Linked DNA regions of Homo sapiens: regions 1 and 3 are each linked to region 2. Evidence: promoter capture Hi-C in 16 types of primary human blood cells and fetal thymus (Javierre and others, 2016). All regions are on one chromosome and are shown on one strand. Each heading gives the region's core, a stretch centred on a gene start or on the middle of the fragment in contact. The rest is flanking DNA. Distances are from core to core; before and after follow the strand shown.

What was found. Contacts are between HindIII fragments. The CHiCAGO score rates a contact against its expected background, and 5 or more counts as called.
Region 1: a contact is called between a fragment that was not itself captured here and the fragment with the promoter of EMILIN3 in region 2, in 2 of 17 cell types (megakaryocytes and erythroblasts). The highest score is 6.3, in megakaryocytes.
Region 3: a fragment that was not itself captured here is called in contact with the fragment with the promoter of EMILIN3 in region 2 in 3 of 17 cell types (megakaryocytes, erythroblasts and M1 macrophages); the score reaches 6.3 in megakaryocytes.

Annotation. Positions count from the first base shown.
Region 1 is chr20:41,174,111-41,177,112 of GRCh38, forward strand. PLCG1 (phospholipase C gamma 1) reads left to right here. Exons shown (of 32, transcript NM_002660.3): 31 at 14-201; 32 at 357-3,002. The coding sequence ends at 399. Among named protein-coding and RNA genes, the nearest start is that of MIR6871, 6.6 kb to the left of the region's middle. The HindIII fragment of the contact is 9,247 bases long and covers 1-3,002 here.
Region 2 is chr20:41,365,262-41,368,083 of GRCh38, forward strand. EMILIN3 (elastin microfibril interfacer 3) reads right to left here and starts at 1,557. Exons shown (of 4, transcript NM_052846.2): 1 at 1,207-1,557. The coding sequence starts at 1,373. RefSeq lists an enhancer at 294-795. The HindIII fragment of the contact is 20,041 bases long and covers 1-2,822 here.
Region 3 is chr20:41,149,406-41,152,517 of GRCh38, forward strand. All of the region lies in intron 1 of PLCG1 (phospholipase C gamma 1), which reads left to right. Among named protein-coding and RNA genes, the nearest start is that of PLCG1-AS1, 13 kb to the left of the region's middle. The HindIII fragment of the contact is 1,108 bases long and covers 866-1,973 here.

The DNA of each region.
Region 1 (3,002 bases), core at 269-2,768, 190 kb before region 2:
GGCTTCGTTGAAGCAGGAGAATGGTGACCTCAGTCCCTTCAGTGGTACGTCCCTGCGGGAGCGGGGCTCAGATGCCTCAGGCCAGCTGTTTCATGGCCGAGCCCGGGAAGGCTCCTTTGAATCCCGCTACCAGCAGCCGTTTGAGGACTTCCGCATCTCCCAGGAGCATCTCGCAGACCATTTTGACAGTCGAGAACGAAGGTGAGGAAGATGGAGGGGTGCTAGAGCCAGGAAGGCAGTGGCTAGGTCCTCCTTCTTCAGTGTTTCTTTCTCCTGGGTAGAAAAGTTGTAATATTGTCTGGCATTGGGCTGCAAGGCCCTGCCTGCCAGTAAGGACACTCTTCCCTTCTGTCCAGGGCCCCAAGAAGGACTCGGGTCAATGGAGACAACCGCCTCTAGTTGTACCCCAGCCTCGTTGGAGAGCAGCAGGTGCTGTGCGCCTTGTAGAATGCCGCGAACTGGGTTCTTTGGAAGCAGCCCCCTGTGGCGGCCTTCCGGGTCTCGCAGCCTGAAGCCTGGATTCCAGCAGTGAATGCTAGACAGAAACCAAGCCATTAATGAGATGTTATTACTGTTTTGGGCCTCCATGCCCCAGCTCTGGATGAAGGCAAAAACTGTACTGTGTTTCGCATTAAGCACACACATCTGGCCCTGACTTCTGGAGATGGATCCTTCCATCTTGTGGGGCCAGGACCATGGCCGAAGCCCCTTGGAGAGAGAGGCTGCCTCAGCCAGTGGCACAGGAGACTCCAAGGAGCTACTGACATTCCTAAGAGTGGAGGAGGAGGAGGAGCCTTGCTGGGCCAGGGAAACAAAGTTTACATTGTCCTGTAGCTTTAAAACCACAGCTGGGCAGGGTGAGAAGCTAGATGCCCCTGCAGTTTGGCCCTGGAGCCAGGGCAGAGGAATGTAGGGCCTGCATGGAGAAGGGTTCTGCCCTGCCTGAGGAGGAGGACACAGCACAAGGGCACATTGCCCATGGCTGGGAACATGACCCAGCCTGAAAGATACAGGGGATCATGTTAAAAATAGCAGTATTATTTTTCGTCTCAATGGTATTGTAACTAAGTTATTTACTCCTCCTGCTCCTCACCCCTGTAGGGAAACCTTGGAGAGGAGAGTGGCAGGTGGGCTGCCTGCTGTGTTAAGAGGACTTAGTTTGTGATGTAAGGCACTGTCAGGAATGGGGGGCGGGCCAGGGTGGGAAGAGAAGAAATAGCAGAGCCTATTTTGGTGAGGTTTTTTGTTTTTAAGTCAAAGAAGACTCAGTATGCTTTCCCTGAGGAATGAAAAAGGGATTGAGGAGTTGCCTGACTCCTGGGTGGGTGGGGTACAGGCAGTTAGGTGCTGAATGAAGCTGCCATCCTTGCTGCAGCTTCTAACTGGTAAAAAGATCCAGGGATGGAGATGGGAAGGTTAGAAAGGCAGCCCTCACCTCTGAGGACAGAGGCCGGGGTCCAGGCCCGTGGGCGCAAAGGTGCCTCATAGCATAGCCAGCATTCAGCACACACAAACCTACTGCCCACATTTGGGCTCAGGGTTGGCCATTTGCTAGTTCTGCTGCCCTCTTAAGATCTGACTGCCAAATAAATCATCCTCATGTCCTTTTTCCTTTGACTTGTATGCTCTTTCGGGGGCTCAGGAAAGCCTGTTGCATGGGACATGCTCACTAGAAACAGTCGCCAGATGATTATTCTGCAGTAGAAGCAGGTAGGAAATTTCTGGAAATTTCTCAGGTTAAGCAGCAAGAGCTGTAACCCCTCCTCTGGGCTAACAGGAGTTGTGGGTCCACTCTCTCCTGCCCACCCTCTGAGGGTGTGTCTGAGCAGAGTACATCCTGCCTGGGTTCTTTGTGGCCAGCCAGTTTTGGTGGTGAGCTGGAAACAACCAGAGCCCCTTTCCAGTTCCACAGAAACCTCTCCTTTCAAAAATGTTGCATTCAGTTCGTTAACACTGCCAGGTGCCATTCTGATTGCCTCTAGGACTTGGCAGCTGAAATCTCTGGGCCCTTTCAACACAGTTGAAAGGCCCTTCTCTTCCTGAAGCTCTGTTTCCATAGTTGGCTGTGCTGGGATGGAACAAAAATGACGCCACACAAAAAATTTAAGATAGATCCGGTTCCGTGGATGACATGAACTGATGATAGCCAGTATCAAACAGCGATAGTGCTCAGGTTCTTGTGTGACTTTCTTTTACAGCTTCACAGTCCCAGTTCATAGAGAGGAGGGTGGCTTTTTCCCATACACAAGAAGGTGGTGGGTGGGAATTCACCTGGGCCCTCATGATCCATGTTTCCTCTCTAGGTTTTTATGGCCTGGAGAGAAAGGTTTCCTATCAGAGAAGGAAGAGGACTGTGTAGGCCCTTCTGTTAGGGCCCATCCACGTTGGTTAGGACGTCCTTGGCGTGTTTGTTAGTGTTGACCCTTTTAGTTTTCATCAATACGTATCTCTATTTGCTGAACAAGTGTCTTTCTGGAACACAACCTGGGGAACAGACAGCTCTGCCTTTCTTAAGGCAGCTTTGTAGACCTGAGGCTCACCTCTCTTGGGCTCTGTAAGACATTGCCTTTGCCTCACTGCAAATGTTTTGATTGTTCTTCCTAGTGGAAAACGTGCCAACTCTCAAGCAAATTTAAAGATCATTTTCACTTCAAGATTCCTCCAGACCTGACAAATGTTGATTGACCCAGAAGGCAGAGTGTTTGTTGGTGGGGAAGACCCTTACTTGGGGCCGAATGCTTTGGCATCAGGAGTTGTTTGCCCCATCCCATGCATGCAGGCCGTGTCCCTACAGTGCGACAGCTCAGGGTTATGACCTGTGGAGTCTCAACCCTAACAGCACATTAGCACCACTTGGGGAGCTTCTGAAAAATACTGGTACCCGGGGCCTTAGCATAGGTATTGTTCAAAACCTCTCAAGGTGATTTAAATGAGTAACAAGGGTTGAAAAACCCTGATTTTGGCAGCACAAACCAAAAGAGCAGGCAGGGCCGGGAGAGGGA
Region 2 (2,822 bases), core at 307-2,806:
CATGTCTCTTCTGTCTGTTCTCTGTGTCCCTGGGAGCCAACGCCCTTGGTCTGGGGTCCAGCCCCGCTGCTGGTCTCTGATTCCAGCCTCCGTGATGGGTGGCCCCTGGGCTAAGCACTATTTGGAACCAGGAGCCTGATGTGGCTGCCCCTCCCTGCGTGGGGAAGAGGCCAGCCCGGATTCTCCCTCAAGTGCCCTGCCACACCCCCCCATCCTTCGCTGATTCCAAACTCCTTATCTTGGCATTTAAGGCTTCCGAGTCCCCACTCAGTGACTCCTTTGAGAGCACCATGTCTTGTCCTTCCTCCCTGCCTGGCTCCCGGGGAAATCCACCTCTCCTCGTAGTTTTGCAGCCCCTGCCTTTGGTCCTGTTCCCTTACTCTCAGAGCAGTTCTTGTACCACCTCCTCCAGGAGGCTCGCTGTGATGTACCCAGGCCCACTGAGTGTCGGTACTCTTCCTCCTACAACAGCTCTCAAATTCAGCTAGAATTCAAGTTCAGCCAGCACCCCAGGCAGAGCCTCCAGCCCACTTAACTGAGGCCAGTTCGCAAGCCACTGCCCACGAAACACCAGAAGCTGAGGCGGGGAAAGCAGGCTCCTTGATGAGCCACAAGGGCTGAGGAGGTGGCTGCCTGGCATAAGCCGACCGCTGTGGACGGCTGTGCCACAGCACAGGCCCGGAGCCAGGAGCCCGCTCTGGCTCTGCAGCCCGGCCACGCTGGGGCTCCCATGGGGTTGCTGGGGCCAGGCTGACTGCGAGAGGGCAGCGGCCGCCCGGATGCGCAGCTCTATCTCCTACCTGGCCGGGCCAGGGGAGAGAAGGGAGGCCCGGGGCGGGGGAGCCCCGCGTGCTCAGCGCGCGGACCGCCTTTCCTCCTCTCCCTCCACCTGGTCCGCTCGCCCGGAGTCTGCACACAGCGCAGCTGGAAAATGTTACTTCGCTGGAAAGGTTTCCGCTGGCACTGCCAGGATCCCAAGCCGCCGCGCCAGGCCCCCTCGGTTCCTTTTTCCTCGCCAGCCCCGCAACCTCCCGGAGCGTAGGGCGCTCGCCTGGGCAGGGGCTCGGCCCCGGGCGCCGCCCCCTCTGTGCAGCGGCCTCGGGGTGCCCGGGGCCTCGACGCCCCCCGCGGGTGCGGGCAGGTGGGAGCGGCGACGCGCGCGGGCCCATCCCTCCCTCTTCCCGCCCGCCGCCCGCCCGCGCTTACTTGTGCGGCCCCGGGCGCAGCCGCGGGCGCCATCCCGTCGTGTAGAGACTGTAGCGGGAGGCACCGGGCGGCGCAGGCCGCGCCAGGAGCGGGGTGCCCCTGGCCTGCGCCCCCGAGAGCAGCGCCGCGACGGCGCACAGCCAGACGAGCAGGCGGCGGCGGCCCATAGCGGCCCCCGCGCCTCTGCCCGGCCCCGCGCGGTGCCCCCCGCCGGGTGTCCGCCTGCAGCGCCGCGCCGCCCCCGCCGCTGGTCGGCCCGGGTCCCGCCCCGAGGGTCCCGGGGTCCCCTTCGGCCCCCGAGCTCGCTGGCCCGGCCGCCTGGCGCTTCGCGGCGGCTGCGTCCCGCGGAGTGGCCGGCGCTGCTAGCGGCTGGGGCCGCGGAGGGGAGGCGGGAGGCGGGCTCTTTGCGGATTAGCATAAACTTGGGGCCGCGCCGCTCGCCGCCGCCAGCCCCTCGCCCCAGCTCCGAGCGGACGGCCGAGGAGCCGCCTGCGAACAGGAGGTTCCAAAGGGAGCAGCCCCAGGTGGCAGGGGCGCAGGCCGCCGCGCCCTGGGAGGCCCCCCGAGCACACCAGCCACTCTGTCGCCTGCGGGCACGGGGCGAGACGCAGAGAAGCGGACCCCTGAGGCCAGCCTGGGCGTGGACTTTCCAGGAGTCGTCCACCCTCAGGATACGCTTGTCTTCAGAGTCCGTGTGAACCCGGGAACTGCTCTCCAGGGCTCTGGAGCCGAGATGGCCGTGACTGGGGGCACAGCAGCACCACCTCCCCCGCCACCTCTTTGGAATAGACCCCAGATCATCCCCGTTTGCTCGCTCTGCCTCCTGGCCCCATCATTGCCCGGGAACCTTAGTTTGATAACTCCGCTGACCTCTCCCCAGGCATCCCACCTCCCCCTTACCCCGCAACCTCTGCCACGTAGCCTGGTGGCCCGGTTGCACCTCTGGTTCTCTGGAGGCGCCTGTGTTGCCTCTCTGTCTTAGGTATGGGTTGCACCGAGCCCGAAAGGCCTATCACCGCCCCAGCCCAGCCAAAAGTGCTGTGCTTTTCGTGCAACTGAAGCTCTAAGCCGGCTGGTCAGAGAAAATCCTCAGGTCTTTCTCACAAGGCACTGCCGCGGTGAAGCCAGGCGTCGTCCACATTTTGCTTGTGAAGTTGACTCTTGGAACCCAAGAGTTGGGTTTTATCGTCGTCCTCATTCAGTATCACCTTGCTAACTCTCTAACCTGCACAGAGTCCTTCTGATTCTGTCATCAGAGCGGTACTTTCCTGGCCTTGTCTCATCCACACCGGTGGCTACAGCCGTCTGTGTCTTTGCCCCAGGAGCTGATAGGTGTACAGAACTCTGGGGCTTGCTTGGAGAGACCTCCCTCCAAATTGACCTTGAGATATGAATTAATGCCTTTTGGATAGGGTGATGGTTATCAAGGATACTGGAAGGGGCAGCTCCGAAACCCACATCTATTTCCTGCCCTTAGCTTTAGTGGCTTTTGGGTTCTGTGGGGCGGACATCTGACCCCAGCTAGGCCCATCCTGCTTTCCCCCAGGCTTTGGAATCAGAACACAGAAGCTGAAGGAATCCAGCTTCCAGGTGTAGGTTGTGTGAGTTTCTCAGGG
Region 3 (3,112 bases), core at 170-2,669, 220 kb before region 2:
CGAAGGATCATTCTGAAGTTTGGAGTTTGGGTACCTGTTTGAATGGTGATGCTCTTAGCTGACCCAGGGGGTATGGCAAGAGGCCTTGGTTCTGGTGAGAGAGAGAAGACAGTGTTTGGTTTTGAGGAGTTGTCTTTGAGACGTTTTGAGATGAAGAGTGGGGATAGCAAGTAGGCAGCTGAATTGAAGGATCTGAAGCTTAAGAGGAGAGGACTAGGCTAGAGACCTGTTTGTGAATTATCTGTACATAGGAGGTAATTAAGGGTGTGGGCATGGCTGACACTGATGAGGAAGAAGGCAGAGCACCGGAAGAGAGGACCTTGACCTGAGCCTTGACCAAGGCCATTGCTAAATGCAGGTAGGCCTGTAGCGCACAAAGAAGCATGAAAACCAGGCAAGGTTGTGCAGGAGAAATCAAGGGCAGAGCTTCAAGGAGAGAGGGCGTGATCAACCATGTTGATTGCTCTGAGGTGTCAGGAAGGAGGACCATAGATAAGTGATTTATGGGTCAGGCACGGTGATTCATGCCTGTAATCCCAGCTCTTTGGGAGGCCAAGACTGGCGAGTCATTTGAGCCCAGGAGTTCAAGAACAGCCTGGGCAACATGGCAAAACACCATCTCTGCAAAAAATATAATCAGCCTGGCGTTGTGGTTTGCCTGTAGTCCCAGCTACCTGAAAGGCCAAGGTGGGAGGATCACCTGCACCTGGGGAGGTAGAGGCTACAGTGAGCCCTGTTGGTGCCACTGCACTCCAGCCTGGACAACAGAGTGACTTATGGGCCAGGCATGGTGGCTCACACCTGTAATCCCAGCACTTTGGGAGGCCGAAGTGAGAGGATCACTTGAGGCCAGGAGTTTGAGACAAGCTTGGGCAACATAGTGAGACCCCATCTCTATAAAATATAAAGAAAAATTTTAAAAGTGACTTATACCCATTGCTCTGGTTCTCCAAGTAGCCTGAGTGTACTATGTGGGGGAGCATTTTATGAGGGACTTTTGAGGTCCTGGGCATCCCTGAGACATGGCCCTGGTGGGTCCCCAGTCTCTCTCCTGTAGCTAGGAGCCTGGCATACACAGGCCATCTAGAAAGAACTTAGGCAGCATCAGTCTGCAAGGGAGGCAGAGTTTGGAGCACACTAGACTCCTGACACAGAGGCTGACCCATGGCTGCCTGGAGAATCTTCTGGGCTTGTGCAGAAAAGTTGGGGAAAGCCACCTTTCCCTACTGTGGCAGTCAAGGCTTGGTATAGGCCATCTTCCCTCCCTTCTCATCCATGATACTCTGAATGCCCTGTTTGTGGAACTTAGTGGACTCCTGCACCTCTGTCTTGGTTTCCATGAACCCCTCTGCCCAATGTGTGCTTGTCAGCCCTCCAGACCTGGCTTTTACAGAGCACTCCAAGACATTGCTCTACACACACTCAGCTCCACAGACACCTCCCTGTTGTTCTACTCGTTGCATGACCTCATAGTTATCTGCTTCCCCATCTGTTTCCTCCATCAGGCAGGGGTTTTCTCAAAGGCAGGAACTCAAATGCCTTATTGATCTCTGTTTCCCTAGGACCCAGCCCAGGGCCTGACATGGAGTAGATAGATGCCCGATAAATGTTTGATCAGATGATGGAATGAATGACTGCATAAGCCGAATAGATCACTGCTGAGTGCTCTTCCAGCTTTAATTTCTCTGGGTGGGACCTCCTTTCCCTTCCTTCCTTTGGATTCTGTTCTTACCTCTGAAATAGGTGAGATTAATTTAGAGTCCTAGGGAAGAGGGCTGCCTGCCTGGATGGTACAAAGGCTGGCTGTGGCTGCTCTGTGTTTCTCTGTATACCCAGTGTCAGGGATAGCAGCTGCTGTGGGGACACTGCAGAGTGTCCCAGTTCTGCCATGACTCACCATATGACCATGACAAGACCCTTTGGACCCTCTGTTTCCTCATTGTTTCAAAGAGATTTGTCTAGAATCTAGACCAAGCTTGTCCAACTCGCTGCCCGCGGGTCTGGTTTGAAGGCAGCTGCTGCACAGTAATGGGAAGGACAGTAAGCCCCACCATCGCCTTCCCTTTGCCATATAACCCTGTGACCTCAGAAGTCCCTGAACCCAGATCCTTGTTTGTAAAATGGAAAGGGATAGCTACCCACCCCTCCACTTTGACCTTCCTTTGGTGGCAGCCAGATGTGCTCAGGGAAACCTCAGATTTGTGAGTATGTTTCTACTGAGAGGCAGGAGGAGGAATATTATAGTCTCAGGAAGAGGGAGGAATGAGAGGGAGAGGAGAACTCTCACCCTTTCCACAGGCTTTGGGCATATGCAGCCAGCTTGGAAATGCTGACCATCCTGTGACCTGGCTACTATTGCATCAGGCTTCCTTCCCACCTGTGTCCAGGTCCTATCTTTGTCTCTTCTTTGGCTACCTCCATCCTTTTCCTTCAGAGCTGCAAAAACCTTGCCAAAGCCGTATGGTCCTGATGGGTGCAGAGCCCCTGTGCCTCTGGCTGCCTGTGAAGGGGGATCTGCAGTGCAGTGCCTGCCGTACCCCACAGGGAGTTGTATAGGAACCTGGGGATGGGGTGACTGAGGTAGGGGGCCAGAAGTGGCCCAGATGATACTCACTTCTGCTGGAACTTTTCTTTGTCCATCTTTCAGCATCCTCTGGTGGAGAAGGCTTAGCTCCATTAATGCTCTCCTAGGTCCTGGCTGTGTATTTTCTTTGGTATGGGAGTGGGGAACTGGGAGGGACTCATCTGTTTGCCACAGACTACATGTGGAGAGGGTGATTGGTGAGAGGTCATTTTGGAGATCTACACACCTCTTCTGACCCCTGGGACCACTCTCCTGAATCTCCTCATGGTCTTGGCTTCGGGCCCAGCAGGGCGTGGGTGCTCGGCATCCTGCTGCTTTTACTGTTTTTCCCAAAGCTCTGTTAGCTTCCCGTGGTTCCCACTGGCTATAGGAATCTTTATGTAAGGACTTCCCAGTGTTTCCAGACTGTATTTGCCCCCAGGGGTCACATTCCCCCCAACTATGCCTGCTGCTGCTTTTTCTGTTCCCGTTGTTACCTCACTGACCACTGCATTTTCAGTATTTGTTGTAGCCCCTCAGCCTCTGTGG